2 separate regions of the Homo sapiens genome follow, and region 2 is linked to region 1. The links are contacts of gene promoters, found by promoter capture Hi-C in human tissues and cell types (Jung and others, 2019). All regions are on one chromosome and are shown on one strand. The core of a region is centred on a gene start or on the middle of the fragment in contact, and the rest is flanking DNA. Distances in the headings are between cores, read along the strand shown. Region 1 holds the start of CMPK2 (cytidine/uridine monophosphate kinase 2). Region 2 overlaps LINC01247 (long intergenic non-protein coding RNA 1247).

Region 1 (7,449 bases), core at 4,005-6,504:
GTAAATTGCCGAATCTCGGGTATGTCTTTATCAGCAGCATGAAAATGGACTAATACACTGGTTTATCATTGAATCCTCTAAATTGAGACTAGTCTTTGGCACACAGGAGGTGTCCAGTAAGTATTTGTTGAATAAGCCAATGAACAAATAAATGACTGAAAGTATAGACTCATTAATGTCCCCGGTATGCTATTTCCAGCTTACCTTGGCAAGTTATTTTACCTTTCTGAGATCTATAGTTCTCATCAGTAAACTGGGAATAACATGTAACATTCACCTACCCAAGTTATAGTTCCAGATACTAGTATTATATATGTAATTCTCTAGCAAATGCCGTGCCTGGTATAGGTAATTAACAATTCATAAGGAGAATTCCTATTATTATCATAATAACAGTTTGACTTAAACACAATTTTTTTCCTGGCATATACATGTACGTATACACACACACGCACACACACACACACACACACACCCACACACTTATATATTAGGGAGAAAATGCCTAATTCAAGGCATCTTTATACCTACCTGTCTACAATCACAGGAGATTTGGCAGATTCTTTAGCTATTTCGGAGGCCACAATATAATTGCCCAAAGAGTAAAAAGCTCTTCTAATGATAGTTGGTTCATCATCAAAGATCTTCCTCCACTGGCCAATGCAAGAGGGTGGTGACTTTAAGAGGACAGCCTTAAGTGAATCTGCCACTGACTGGGTCACCGTGGTTTTACCTGCAGGTCATACACAAAATATATACATCTTAACCACAGCCCCAAAGTTAACATTGACGTAGAAAGAGCACAGACGTTCTCTCAAACTGCAAATGAAATGAGTAGACTAAATAACAGGATTCTTTATAAAAAGCTGTAGACCCATAGGAAGTTAGGATTTCTCCGTGTGGTATTAGGAAACCCGGAGGAAAAATTCTGGTTAGTGATCAAATCTGATATTGGGAGTCTAGACACAAGAGCCCCTTTTACGTGTGACTTTTATTCCCGGCAGCCCAGCTACTGCTCACCCTCTTACCATGTCCCCCACCCAGAAGACTTTCTCTCCTCTTATTGTCTATAGTTGATGAACCCACACCTGGCATCCACAGCAACTCTTCTCGCCCCTCCTCTCTTTCTACCTTCTTCATACCCTGCTTCCACTTCTGTGCAATCCCTTTCCAATTTCCAGCCCTGGTTCTACCACTCACTCCTGTGCTTGCCCCTTTGGGCTTGGCCTTGGCCTTTAGAGCTTTTGTATCTGCTTTAGGCTTCAGCTTTCTCCTCAAAGGCACTGCTTAGGCCTCATTGACTTTCTGACTCCCCCTTGCACAGCCTCGGGTGACAGATTAGTCCCTTCCCAGAGCCCATCTCACAATTCTCAGCTGCTGCCTGGAGCTCAGGACAGGTGGTGATGAGAAGATCTACTCCAGCACACTGTGCACTAGTTTCTCTGAGCTCCTACTGTTTCGATTTATTTTTAAGTTTCTCTATCACACACTTAACACTTTATTGCCAACTATCTATTTTCTTTTTTTCTTAGGTTGTCAGGACGGACCCTAACAGTAGCTACCATTTCTCAGTGTCTGCTAGGAGCCAAGTACTCAGCACGTTATACTCCTAATTCTCCCAGTGACCCTGCAAAACAGTTATTATTTAATCATCTGACAGAAGAAGAAATTGAGCACTGGAGAAGTTAATAAATTTACCCAAACTCACCCTCCTGATAGGCCTTGGTGCAGGATGCAAATGCAGGGCAGACGGAACCACTAGCCTGTGTTCTTTCTGCCACTCTATGCTAACTCCTTGTAACATTTGTATGTGTGGATGCTTGTGTTGAGGCTGAATTTTTATGTCTCCTGTAATCCCACCAAATCTAAATTAGCTGTGGGTACAAAATAAATGATCAACAAAACACATCAGCTGAAGGATTGATGGTGTTACAATTCCCTCTGCAGCTGAAAGAAACTGTGATGGGTCCTGGACACGGCCAGTACATTTGAGTGATGACAGCTGGTCTCCCTGAAGGCCAGGACATGGCCCGCTCCTTCACATGGAGCCAGGATGGTCAACATGGGCCATCACCTGTGCCACATCTCCCTAGCTGGGTTCACAAGTACCTCTATATGGAAATTGCCTTTTATATTATTAAAAGTCTGTACCCCTCAAGTTTACACAGGAGGAGAAACTCCTACGCTGAACCACTCGGATGCTAGTTCTCCAACATCAACCCTCTCCTCAGTGTGTCCTGGGCCACAGGAGCAGCATGTCTGCCCCTTTTGTACTTTGGTCTCATGTGAGCACACATTATATTTTGACCTCAGTTTGACAGCTCAGAAGGCTTTTTTTTCTTCCATTTCCTAGTTCTTCCACATTTTGCTCCAGAAGAATCTCTGAATTGCCTGTGGTTCCTGGACACACCACCCTGGTTCAAGCCCCTGCACCTTTGCCCAGGCTATTTCTTCTGTCTGGAGGATGTTACCTGCTTTCATCACCTGACCAACTCCTATCTGTACTTAAAATACAATCCAGGTATCACCCTTGACCATGCACTCCACCCGACAAAGCCCCACAGAGGCCAGATTCAGTGCCCTTCCTGTGTTCCGCCAGAGCACTGAGGATCCGCGCCCACACATCATGCTGCTTCATATTGAAGGTCTTATTCATCTCTGCATCCCAGGGCCTGCCTAGCACAGGGCCTGCCACACAGTAGGGGCACACATAAGGCTCCATATAAAGTTTGGTTTTGCAGGAAGTATTTCTGTTTCTGCAACTAATCAGTTAGTGTCATTGCCTATAACTAAAAGGTAATATTATCTTACCCGTGGCATCCAGTCCTTCGATGGCAACAACCTGGAACTTTCCTTTCTGGATCTGTTTTGGGCACTGGTCGACCAGGTCAAGCACTGCCCGGGCTTCAGGAATAAAGGAGGTACACTGTAAAACAACGTCTATCCATCAGCAATGAAGCCAGGGGGCTTTTGCAGAAATCACACCTAAATTGCTGAGCACAATATTGCCGCATGCTAATAAGGCCTAAGTTATACTGAGCACTGTGCCAGGCCATGGGAATTCAGAGTATTTCGATGCTAGGATGGACTGGAGTGTTTTATTTTATATTGAGCAGCCGAGGCTCGAAACAGCTGTCCCTGTCTGGATCGCTTGGTGGCCTGCAGCCTTCACTGAGCAGCTTTGAGAAAGGCCAGGCAAGGCACATCATCACAATGTCCTGTGACACCGCAACCATGGAACTACAGGCCCGCTGGGAACACTGTCTCACAAGAATGGGAAATCAGCTGCACAGTGGGCTGGAGAGAGCAGTCTTCATCTGCAGCATGTCCTCTCCTAGCCATTCAGGGGGCTGAGATAAACAGCCAAGCACTGCAATCATGAAGCTGGCAGAGCAGCGTCCCCCTGGGAATTCCCAGTTCCTCAATGTGCATTATCTCACTGCACGCTCACAGCATCTCAGAGCGAGGCTCAGACACTTATGTGCTTGCTCTGAGCATGGCAATCTTCTAAGTGCTTTACAAGTATTCAGTTGCCAATCTCTGTGAACTGGGGTGGGGGGGTGCTATTATTATTCCCACCATATGAATTAAGGAAACTGAGGCAGAGAGTTGAAGAAACTTGCTCAAAGTGACACAGCTAATAAATGCCAGAGTTTAAATTTAAATACACGTGGTTGACCTTGCGCTCTTAACTGCTCCACAACGCTGTCCCGTAAGCTTGGAAAATATTCCCAAGATCCATGGGGGCATCCTCAGGGCTCATCTGTGTCACAGGAGGACATCTGCCTAGCCTGCGATCAGAAAGAATTTTCAGTCTCTTTCTGTGGGTACCTGCTGTGAGTCAGATGTTTCCTTAATCAGGACAACATCGCAAGATGGGAATTGTACATGTCAAAGGGCAAAACTTAGAGTAGTTGAGTAACCTGCACAAGGTTCATGGCCAGTCGGTAGGTAAACACTATTTAAGTCTAAATTTCTTAAACCCCCTAAACTCATGCATTTTCTTTTTCACCCCAAGATCCTTGAATGGTGATCATCAGCAAATAAAATTACTTCCCAGCTGACATTATTTTCCCTCACTCCCGGCAGCCCCTTTACTCCCTCTGTACTGCTGTTGGGATGCTTTTACAGCAAGCATCGCGTGGCTTGGTGTAGGTCTATGTTCCACGTCAGGTTGGAAGATCCTTGCAAACAAGAATCTTAAAAGAGTTGCCTGGCATACAGGACACCTTCCCTACCTGATTTGTGAACGGAAATAAACAAACCACCCAGGCAAGAACCGGCTCTACAGACCAGCCTCTTGGTCCAGTTCTCTGGTCTGAAGGGTTCAGATGCCACGCTGGGAGCTGGAAGCGGACAGAACTCTTACCTCCTCCAAAACGGCCCGGGCGGCTTCCCGGTCCGGGAAGACCACGGAACTGGGCAAGTCTGGCACCACCGGGTGCAGCGGGGGCTCCGGGACGGGCACGACCTGTGCGCAGCCCACCTGCAGCCGCCTGCCGTCTTGCACCTCCCAGAGGCGCTGCCACAGCTGGCCGCGCGGGTCGGCCTCGAACTCGCCCAAGTGCGGGCGTGGTGCCTCCTGACAGGCGCCCAGCAGCTCGAGCAGCGCTTGCCGGGTGTCAGGGTCATCCAGGGGGTCGCGCAGCAGGAAGCCTTGCTGTGCGCCGCCGGCCTGGCCGCCCGGGCAGTAGCAGAGCAGCCTGAGCAGCTGGCACCGCTGGAAGGGGCCGCGGCGCAGCTGGTGCAGCAGGCGCTGGTGCAGCCGCGCCGCCCGGACCCGGGCCCCGCAGCCGGCGTCCGGGGTCACGGGCACGCACAGCGAGTAGCTGCGCTCCGGGGGCCCCAGCAGCGCCGCCAGGCGGGGGTCGGGGGCGTCTGCGTCGCCGGGGGCGTCGGCGCCTAGGGCGAAGTGAGCCAGGGTGCAGTCGGGAAGCTCCAGGACGAAGCGGCGCGGCGGAGCCATGGCCCCAGCGCAGACCCCGCGCCGCCCGAGCAGCGGCCCCGACAGTGGCCCGCGCAGGAGCCGGCGGGCGAAGGCCATGGGCGCCTCAGCGACGCCGCCCTCGGCCCCGCCTCGGAAACGAAACCTGGCGGGAGCCAGGCGCCGGCGGGAAACGAAACCCGGAGGGAGCCAGGCGCCAGCGGGAAACGAAAGCGAAGCGTTGCGGGGAAACGAAAGCCGGAGGCCCAGGCGGGGCAGGAGCCCTGGGGCTGGGGCGCCCTTCCGGCCTCTCCTCCTCGCCGCGAGATGTGCGCGATAAACGGCCGGCGCTCGGGAGCAGACGCTTGGCCCCGGGGCCCCAGGTGCGCGGCTCCGCGGGCCTGCGCGGTCCCCAGGCGCCGGCTCCCGGGGCTGACACCGAATGAGGCCCCGCGCCGTCGGCCCCAAGGTAGCTCCGTGTGCGTTCTGCGGGTGGCTGGCGGCCCCGACCCTGGTTTGAGTTCCTCCTCTGCGGCTTATGCCGGGTGCATGGAGGGGGGCGGGGGTGCACGCGCGAGGGACAGAGAAGTCCCTTCCCGGTGTAACGGGCTCTTCAACGCCCACTTGCAGGCGCACTACTGCCCTTGGATGACTGACCAGGCCCTGCAGACCATGGGCTCCCTCCCCGACCTCAACTCCTAGCTCTGACCACGCGTCCCCGCCCCTCTAATCCTGCAGAGCTGCTTTCCTGCGGGAACAGGGCGCAGTTCTGGCTCTTCCCTCTCCTGTATCTTATCTCACCTGTGCACTCACTCACCTGTGCACACACTCACCTTTGCACACACTCACCTGTGCACAAGCTTTTCCCTCTTCTTGGAATTGCCCTCTCCCTTTTGCTGACTCTCCAACTGGGAAGTGTCGCCCAGATTGGCACCTCGAAATCGCCTTTCTTCCACCAAATTGAAGTTTCCTGCACTAAGGTGAAGTGTGTCAGGATAGCACCCTCTGCCTGCCACAGTCCAGCATCAGCACTGTTGCTGCCTAACAGTGTAACTGCCTAACAGTGTAACAGTGTTTGCGCAGTTATTTGGATATTTTATTCTGTGTTTACTCATTAACTGATGCCTTTTAAAAATGATGTCAAGCAAACCAAAAACAAACAAAAAGATAATATTCTCCAGGGAAACTCTCTCAAAAAAATAGAATTGAGACGAAGATTGAAAACATTAGATGAGCTGAAAGCAGTTTTTTTTTTATGTCTTAATAGTATTGGACTTAAACTTGGGATTATATTTAATTCTGAAAAAAAAAGTCTTAACAAACGTGAAATATAGATAGGTGGTTGGAGTGTGGGTTAATAGGCTAAGAAGAAAGAAGAATTAGGAGTTTAAAATTTTTTAGCTCTTTGAGAATAGAATAGTTTTTATTCTTTCTCAGGAATTTCACTTTTGGACATTTAGCATGTACCGGTGGTTTCACGTGTATGTAGTATATGGAAGTAAGAGTCTTCTAGTTACTCCCTTTTCTTCTCTAAGACAGTACTGCATCCTCAAGCCTGCTTGACCTTTTCCCTATGCCATCCACCTCTCTGGATGTATTAGTCTATCCTGGCTGCCATAACAAAATACCACGGACTGGGCCGCCTAAACAATAGAAAATTTGTTTTCTCAAAGTTCAGGTGGCCAGAGAAGCTGGAGATCAAGTTGCCAGCAGGGTTTGCTTTTTCTGAGGCCTCTCTTTCTAGCGTGCAGACCGCCTCCTTCTCTCTGTGTTCTCACGGGACCTTTCCTTTGTGCTTGCATCCTTGGCGTCTCCTTGAAGTTCCAAATTTCCTCTTCTGGGAAGGACACCAGTCAGATTGGGTTAGGGCCCATCATAATGTTCTCATTTTAATGTAATCACCTATTGAAAGCCTTATTTTGAAATACAGTCATACTGTGAGGCACTGGGGGCTAGGCCTGAGCATGAATTTTGGGGGACATGATATAGCCTATAACCCCCCACATATCTGGGTTAGTAGCCTCTCCTGTGTCCCCCACCAAGGCTATTTGTATCCTCGGACCTTGACACTCCACAGTCACGTGCCAGTCTATTTCCCACCACTGAGCACCTTGAGGGTAAGTAGGAAGACCAGCTTCTTCCTAACTTTTCTCTGAGCCTCCAACTGAAAGAAAACCTGACACACAGTTTGCTAAATGAAGCATCTTACCTTTTTTAATTTAAGTTTTCCTCTCTATTTTTCACCTACCTTCGCCCTACGAAGAGATGTAAAGTTAATAACACTGCAGTATTTGGGCTTAGTCAATATTATATAAGTGTTGAAGATGTTGAAGATATATCTTCATTCATAAATAAAAATTTCTGTTAGATTTTCAAGCCCCTTCAAATTTGTAGGACAGAGACTCTGAGAGCCACAGCTGGATGTTTATATTGACTAAACATGCCTGTAGCCACCCATCGTTGCAGGTGGAAAGGAGAGAAGCTGCAGGCTGGGAAGATACTTCAAAGAGGTGTCTTTAAATGAA
Region 2 (7,614 bases), core at 1,261-3,760, 500 kb before region 1:
GAAAGCATTCCATATGGGCTAAGGAACTCATCAGGAGGAGGGAAATAAATCCGAGAGTTCCTGTTCCCTCTAACACCGATCAGTCTAGAATCCCAGAAGGCAAAGGGCAAACTGTGTCCCTCCCGTGCATTTTTGCACTCTGTGTATTTTTTTCAAAATATTCATTTCTGATAGTTTAATACCTAAAGATGATTTCATTTATTGCAGTGCCTATAAGCAATATCAGAAAAGCACAACCTGACCTTTTTAAAATAATTTTATCTCTGGGCTATGTGATGTGGAAATGAAAGGAAAGCTCATTCCAGAATATAGGAGAAATAGGTAAGACTACTGTCCTTTTGGTGTAACCATATGGCTTTGTCAGTCACACAGTCTGATGACGTCAGCGCATTTCATCTGAGTACCCAGTGATGTGTCGTGTTACCTCTGGCCACCAGACAAACATCCCTGGCCACACAGGGCTGACACAAACTTCCACTCTGGGCTCAAGGTAGACGCCCTCCATTGCCCTCCATTCTAAGGATGAAGAGGTTTGGAATTCAGGGATAAACTGGAAGCATGAAAAATAAGCAGCTGGAGGGAGCCCCGTCAATGAAGAAAGAGTTAGCCCTGGGTGGGGGTGGGAATAAGAGTTTCAGGCACCCTCATCTTATAGACAGGCACCACAACAAATTCTCCGAATTTGCATTGCAGTTCTTCAAAGGATTCCTCCAGTGATATCAGAGTTAGAAGGTTTTCAGTCTGATGAATGGGGAATATAGATAATGCTAAGTCCCCAGAGGGATTATATAAATGGCTTTTATTCAGATTTCCTAAAAATAGCACTATTCATTGCTTTTTTTGTCTCACATTATTAAAGTACTGTAAGTTCACTTTTAAAATGTTGGAAAAAAGCACAAAATTATGAAGACTATAGAAATGACCTATGATTTCACCACCAAATAAGTATCCATGTTTTTCTATTCATCTAATCATGAGTGCATAAAACCATGTTAAATATACAATTTTACATCTTATCTGTTTCATTTAAATTATATCATTAGCATTTTCTCTATTCAGCTAGGCATTGTTTGAAACCTCATTTTAATGTCATTTGCATATTGTTTTATTGAGCAATAATTTTTTGATCATCGTGTGTGTGTGTATGTGTGTTTATGTGTGTGTGTTTCTGATTTTTCTATGCGCAGGAAATTCTTGATCAATGAATATAGTCAAGATATGATTCCTGCTTTTGGAGGAAAGTCTGACGAAAACAAGAAAAGACAGAAAAGCCTCCATGGGGCTGAAATTCAGAACAGAATGTCTCCTTCTCCTGGAATAAGCCCGGACAAGCCATCAACATTTTGGGGTAGTGCCAAGGTGAAGCCTCCATTCATAACTGGCTGGAGTCTGGGCATGGTTAGAATGGCAAAGGCAAGTGTTCCACGTCACAGAGGTCTGGAAGTTCTCCTTTGGGGCACTGGATCACAGGGATGGGGACAAAAGAACCCAGCCAGCTGTGCTGAGGCAGAGCACGCATCTCCACTGCTGGGACAGGGTGAGGACTTTATTCTAAGACCCTAGGAGGGAGGGAGAGATACTAATCTTTATTCCCATGACTAAGATGGGCTCAGAAATTGCTCATCAAAGCAAAGAATGAAATTGCCCTGTATGCCAGGGACACTTCCAAGATGCTTCATAGAAATTAACTCATGCAGCCTTCATGACCACCCTTGAGGTTGGTAGGTGGTGTCATCCCCAAAACACAGCTGAAGAAACTGGGATGCAGAGATACTGAGTGCTTTGCTGAAGGTCACCAAGCAAGTAAAGGAGGGAGGTGGGATTGAAACAGCAGGTGACCCTAAGGCTCTTCTGCATCTCTCCCCATCACCAAGCACAGAGCATGAGGCCTGACTGTGTCTGCAGGAGGAGATCGGGGCCTGAGGGGAGGGAAATGTTGTGGAGAGCAAAAGCAGAAGAGCCCCAGCAGAAGCAGATGCCTGGAGGAACACCTTTGAAACAAAGTCTAAAAATATCATGTCTCTGATTATGGTTCAGAAAGATTCCCATTTGGGTGTGGGCTTATGTAAGTTTGTGTGTGAGACGTGTGTGTGTGTGTGTGTGTGTGTGTGTGTGTGTGTGTGTGTAGGGAGCTGGAAAGGGGGAGGTGATGGTCCCTCTTTCTAGGTCCCTGCAGTGGTTCTTCCCTGCACCTCCCATGACAGCAAGAATGCATGGTTCCTCTCTGACACCTCCCTAACTGAAGACTCCAGGCTCCAGTGGGCCATGGCCAACCAAGTCCCTGGGAGGCACAGCTGCCTAAGCCACAGGCGGCTGGCAGAGGGGCTCAGCGTCACCCTCCAGAGAATAATCCTCCTCCCAGTCTTCTCATCTGCAGCAGTCAAGGGTGAGAAGGAGCCAGGGAATGACAGAACAAAAGCAGAAAGCTCACCAGACCACAAACCAACCTCAACCAGCTCTTGTCTAAGACACCGCTAAAGAGCTAATCCTCCTGAAATCCACCGAAGGGTTTTAGAGATGGCGGCACTTCCTGCTTTACAGAACACAGCCACTGTATGGTGATCGCCTTGCTTGGAAATTTTTAGCATGGTCAATATAATGGCTTTACTTATAGGTGCTCTTTTGAAATTCAGCAAAATGTTGTTACCAGACTGCCTCCAGGAAACAGAGAATTCTCAGCCACAGCTATTGGAGAAGCACTTTTTAAATGTTATTTTCTGCATGAAGGTATAAAATTATGATACGTCATCCTAATCCAACCCTGTTCCTGTGTCTTTGCCAGACTGTAGGAACAGTCTTCTGCTTCTGGAGTCATAATTATTATGTATTACTAGTTACATCATCAGCACACCACCAAATCAACAGTGCCAGAAAATGTCCGGAGATGTATGATCACCTTCCATTTAGCTTTCAAGAATGGAGAGTCCTGACCACTGAAGACTGAGTTCAATGGCATCCCAAAGCCCATCCCATGAAATACTACGATAATATATCAGCAACTTTTACATTAGCAACGTTTCCATATCTAAGCCCTAATTTTAAGAGAAAATAACACTGCTGGAGAAATCAGCAAACTAATCCAGGTAGGCTTTATTTCTACTGAGTTATAGAAAAACATATAAAACACAAATCAAAAACCAATATATCTTAGAACCCTCAGGGTGATGATGATTTAGATGATAATGTTTTCATGTCCATCCATAAGAAGCTGCCTGGGGGACCGAGTGCGGTGGCTCACGCCTGTAATCCCAGCACTTTGCGAGGCCGTGGTGGGCGGATTACGATGTCAGGAGTTCAAGACCAGCCTGGCCAACATGGTGAAACCCCGTCTCTACTAAAAATACAAAAATTATCTAGGCGTGCCTGTAGTCCCAGCTACTCGGGAAGCTGAGGAAGGAGAATCGCTTGAACCCTGGAATTGGAGGTTGCAGTGATCCAAGATCACACCACTGCACTCCAGCTTGGGCAATGGAGTGAGACTTCGTCTCAAAAAAAAAAAAAAAAAAAAAAAAAGCAAAAACAAACAAACAAAAAACAAAGAAGCTTCCTGGACTCAGGAAAATGTGTCAGCATTTTGACCTTTGGGACAATGTATATTCTTCTCTTTGCCTGAAATTTATTCTCATTGTTAATAAATCTGCTCAAAAGTTATCTCCCCTATGAAATTCTCTCTCTCTGTGTGTATGTGTATGTCTGTCTGTCTATCTATCTCTGTTTCTTTCTCTCTCTCTCACACACACACACAGAGTTTGCCTGTCCCTGATCCTACATCACGTACGCTTCCTTAACTCCAATCTCACTGTTTATAATGCATTATTCGTGCATTTGTTCTCCCCGATCTATTACATTTTTATTGTTGTCTTAAGAACACTGTTTATGCCTGTACCGGCTTATATAACAATGTGCCATCAACTAGATGCTTTTAAACAACTGAAATTTATTTCTTACAGTTCTGGAAGCTGGAAGTCCAAGATCAAAGTGCCGGCAGATTCGCAGATTCTGTGTCTGGTGAGGGGCCATTTTCGGGTTCATAGACAGTGCTTTCTTACTGAGTTCTCACATGGTGGAAGGGGCAAGACAGCTGTCTCTGGATCCTCTTTTACAAGGACACTAGTCCCATTCACAAGGGCTCCACCCTCACGATCTCATCACCTCCCAAAACTTCCACTTTATGTGGGGAGTTTGGTTTCACCGTGATGAATTTCAGGGGGACACTATGATTCAGACCATAGCATACATTTCACATGAGTTCTACTCTCTGAATCCATTTTTAAGTGCAGAATAAAGTATTATTAGCTATAGGAACAATATTGTTCAGCAGATCTCTAAAACGTATTCAGCTTTTATAATTGAAACTTTATGCCCGTTGAACAGCAACTCTTCTTGAAGGCAAGAAGTTTCGGTTGGGCGCAGGGGCTCATGCCTGTAATCCCAACCTTTTTGTAAGCAGTGAGCTATGAACACACCACTGCACTCCCGTCTGAGCCACAGAATGAGACTGTGTCTCAAAAACAAAACCAAACAAAAACCAAATAAACCAAAAGGACTTTTTTCTCACTCTTTCTATTTCATTTAACTACCATTTCTGAACATTTACAGTACACAAATGACAGTTAAATCTGGAATATAAAATCACTATTCTGAAAGAGTTGATAATCTAACAGGGTAGAAAGAAAAAATAATTTTATTCCGGAAAAATATATTGTGTGGAATTTGTCTTCATATAGGGATAATGAACAGACCACATTTACTTGTTATATTCACGTGATGATTGCAAACTTCATATGATTTTTTTCCTTTGAAACTATCATTTTAAAAGATTTGGTCACTAGCTAGTATGTTTCTTGATGAAAGAAACAAAGTCTCTATTATCTAGCATTTCTATTACCAGTGCCCAGTAGGAACCAGGGATCAAGTGAGAATTCCATAAATAATTGTTACCTGAATGAATGAACTTACAATTGTATGCATGTCTCTACTGATAAGACATATTTGCATGTTGGCCAATCACATAGAGTTTTGCTTTTAATAAATGGTTTGGACTGAAATACTTCAAATAAAGAAAAGTGCAGCATCTTGAAAGTTCTTTAAAATGATCCTTTCTCTTTGGGTTGCCAGAGGATCAAATAATTCTCCTATACTCAAATAGAGAATCAGACTACCCTCTTTTATCTTCATTTGGATGTTTCTCCAAAATGTTCTCAATGCTTCCTTTTCAAACCTAGACTTTGATGACAACATTACTTCTCATCTCCTTGTAAGCACAAGTTTGGCCCTTTTAGATGCCATGAGTGTTTAACAATTTAAGTTCCTTTAGATGCCTGAAACAACTAATTTCTCACTGGGGGTATAAACCTTTATATTTATTGCCACTAATTTACTAAATGAATTGTGTTCATATTCTTTTTGTAACCTTCATAGAAAGAAATTAAGATTAGATGCTGCTATTTCAAAAGTGATCTGAACACCCTGCTGTTTTCATCTTTTACAATATTTAGGATACTACCTCCCAATAATCTGTTTGTAAAAACGAATCAATTATCAACAACATGACTTTCTCATGAATAATTAAAAGAAACAACAACACAAAGGAGGGTTCCACCAGAAACCAGTACATCGCTTCAAAAATCTTAAGAGTGCTTTGCAAAACTCTGCATGAAGTGCCTAATTCAAAGAAGCTTGAGACTTTTAATTCCAGGTCGACTCTGTCTAGAATACAATCAGAAGAATTTCTGCTTTCCAGTTGCCTATGGCTGAGATTCCCCTTGGGAATGAGTTTATCGTTTTGGAAGACAGGAGGGCTTTTTGGTTCCAGCAAGGCTCCATTTGGCAAATTAGTGAGCCAATGTATTTTGTGATGTCCTGATTAAAGAACAAAATGAGCCAGGTGTGGTGGCTTTTACCTGTATTCCCAGCACTTTGGGAGGAAGAGGTGGGAGATCACTTGAGGCCAGGAGTTCAAGACTAGCCTGGGCAATATAGCAAGACTCCAACTCAAAAAAAAATTAATAATGAACAAAACAAAACAACACTACTTAAATTTCTGTAAGTACTGTGTACTCATCATCAAAATGATGCAAATCACTGTAATTTTCCTGTAAACAATTTTTAATAAGAAAAATCTGTGAAAAAGTAAAAAATCTATTAATAATTTAATTTAAAATTTTAGTTCTGACTCTTATTAGCTATGAGAAGCTACATGAATTATTTAAGCTTTCTTGAATTTCTTGATCTGCAAAATTAAAATAAGAATGCCTATTTCATAAAACAGTTAAAAAGTCAAAATGAGAGAGAGTCATGAAAAAAATCTCTGAAAAATAGAACTTCTTTTCTCTTTCTATCTTTAAAAGAGCATATAGGGTGTGTGTGTGTGCATGCATGTGTGTGATTGTGTGCATGTGTGTGTGGTCAGTTTGTAATAATTCAGGTCATTTTTTCACTTCTTTTCCACTTGTTAAATGAGATATGAGGCTTGTAGTAATGACCCAGAGGACTCTAAAGTACTTTCTTCACTTCTTAAAAAGATCAGATTATAAATTACAGATTCAAGAATTAATAGTTGTTTCCTGAATCTTTTCATATATTTGGAAAGTATTTATTAATGGCCAAAAATGTGACAATTATTATGTATTCTGTATGTAAGACGCTTCATAATGTTCTTTTCATTAGAATGTGGACCTTACCACATTCTGGTCCATCAGGATCATGTTATTTTATGAGTTATTTGTTCCTTGACAAAGTCAGGAAGACATATTGTGCACAACAATGAGAATAGGCAAAGCAATGATTCATTCGTTACTGGATACTTTTCCCTCTCTCCATCCTGCATCGTTATAGAATCCCCTAGAAAGCTTTCAAGAAAATTAATTCAAGGGTCACATCTCAGACCAAGTAAGATCTTGATGGTGAGACCCAGATGTTGAAGTTTCCTAAACTCCTAACTGGATTCTTCAATGTATAGTCAGAGTTGAAAACCACTGCTCTAAATGTATTATATAAACCTGCCTTCTTCCCAACTAGGCTAAAACTTTCTTAACAACAAAGTCAAGGCATGACATTATCATTATATCCCCTTTTACCTAGTACAATTCCTAGCACAAAATTAGTAACTCATAAATGTCTGTGAAAATAAGTGTTTTAATATTGATGGTCTCTGCCACCAACAGGATTTTAAGTCCCTGGATGGTCAGGTATTTATAAAACCTCAAACATAACAAAATACTCTGTAATTGGCTAATGTTTATAAGTGTTTCTTGAAGCTACTATAGTCCAATTTCAAGCAATCAAGTACTTGGAGAAGCTTTTTATAAATGAAGAAGTTTGGGTGGTCAATCTCTGGTATGGAGACACATAAGTATTCTGGATAATACAGCATGACTCTGCAAAAGAATAATTTTGTTTTAGTCTTCCTTGAGTTTTTAGTACTTGGTATTGAAAATAATCAATACAGGTATATAAGATGAATTTATGAGTAAATAACCAAATAAGTAGAGAAAGTATATTTTCATGCAAAAGGTAACTTTTTTTTTGCAGATGTGTGAAATGCTATGACTTATATTTTAACAAGAACATTCTGGGGACTGTATTAAAAACATTGTGAAGTAGGTTAAAGAC

The links. Contacts are between HindIII fragments. The study calls those that stand out against the background at their distance.
Region 2: a contact is called between a fragment that was not itself captured here and the fragment with the promoter of CMPK2 in region 1, in 1 of the 25 tissues and cell types used here (pancreas).

Annotation. Positions count from the first base shown.
Region 1 is chr2:6,860,653-6,868,101 of GRCh38, forward strand. CMPK2 (cytidine/uridine monophosphate kinase 2) reads right to left here and starts at 5,255. Exons shown (of 5, transcript NM_207315.4): 1 at 4,370-5,255; 2 at 2,812-2,926; 3 at 532-733. The coding sequence starts at 5,044. It also overlaps a transcript of RSAD2 not described here. RefSeq lists silencers at 4,566-5,005, 5,246-5,515 and an enhancer at 5,026-5,245. The HindIII fragment of the contact is 2,409 bases long and covers 4,751-7,159 here.
Region 2 is chr2:6,358,786-6,366,399 of GRCh38, forward strand. It overlaps LINC01247 (long intergenic non-protein coding RNA 1247), which reads right to left. Exons shown (of 3, transcript NR_110251.1): 3 at 7,225-7,379. Among named protein-coding and RNA genes, the nearest start is that of LINC01247, 13 kb to the right of the region's middle. The HindIII fragment of the contact is 4,200 bases long and covers 411-4,610 here.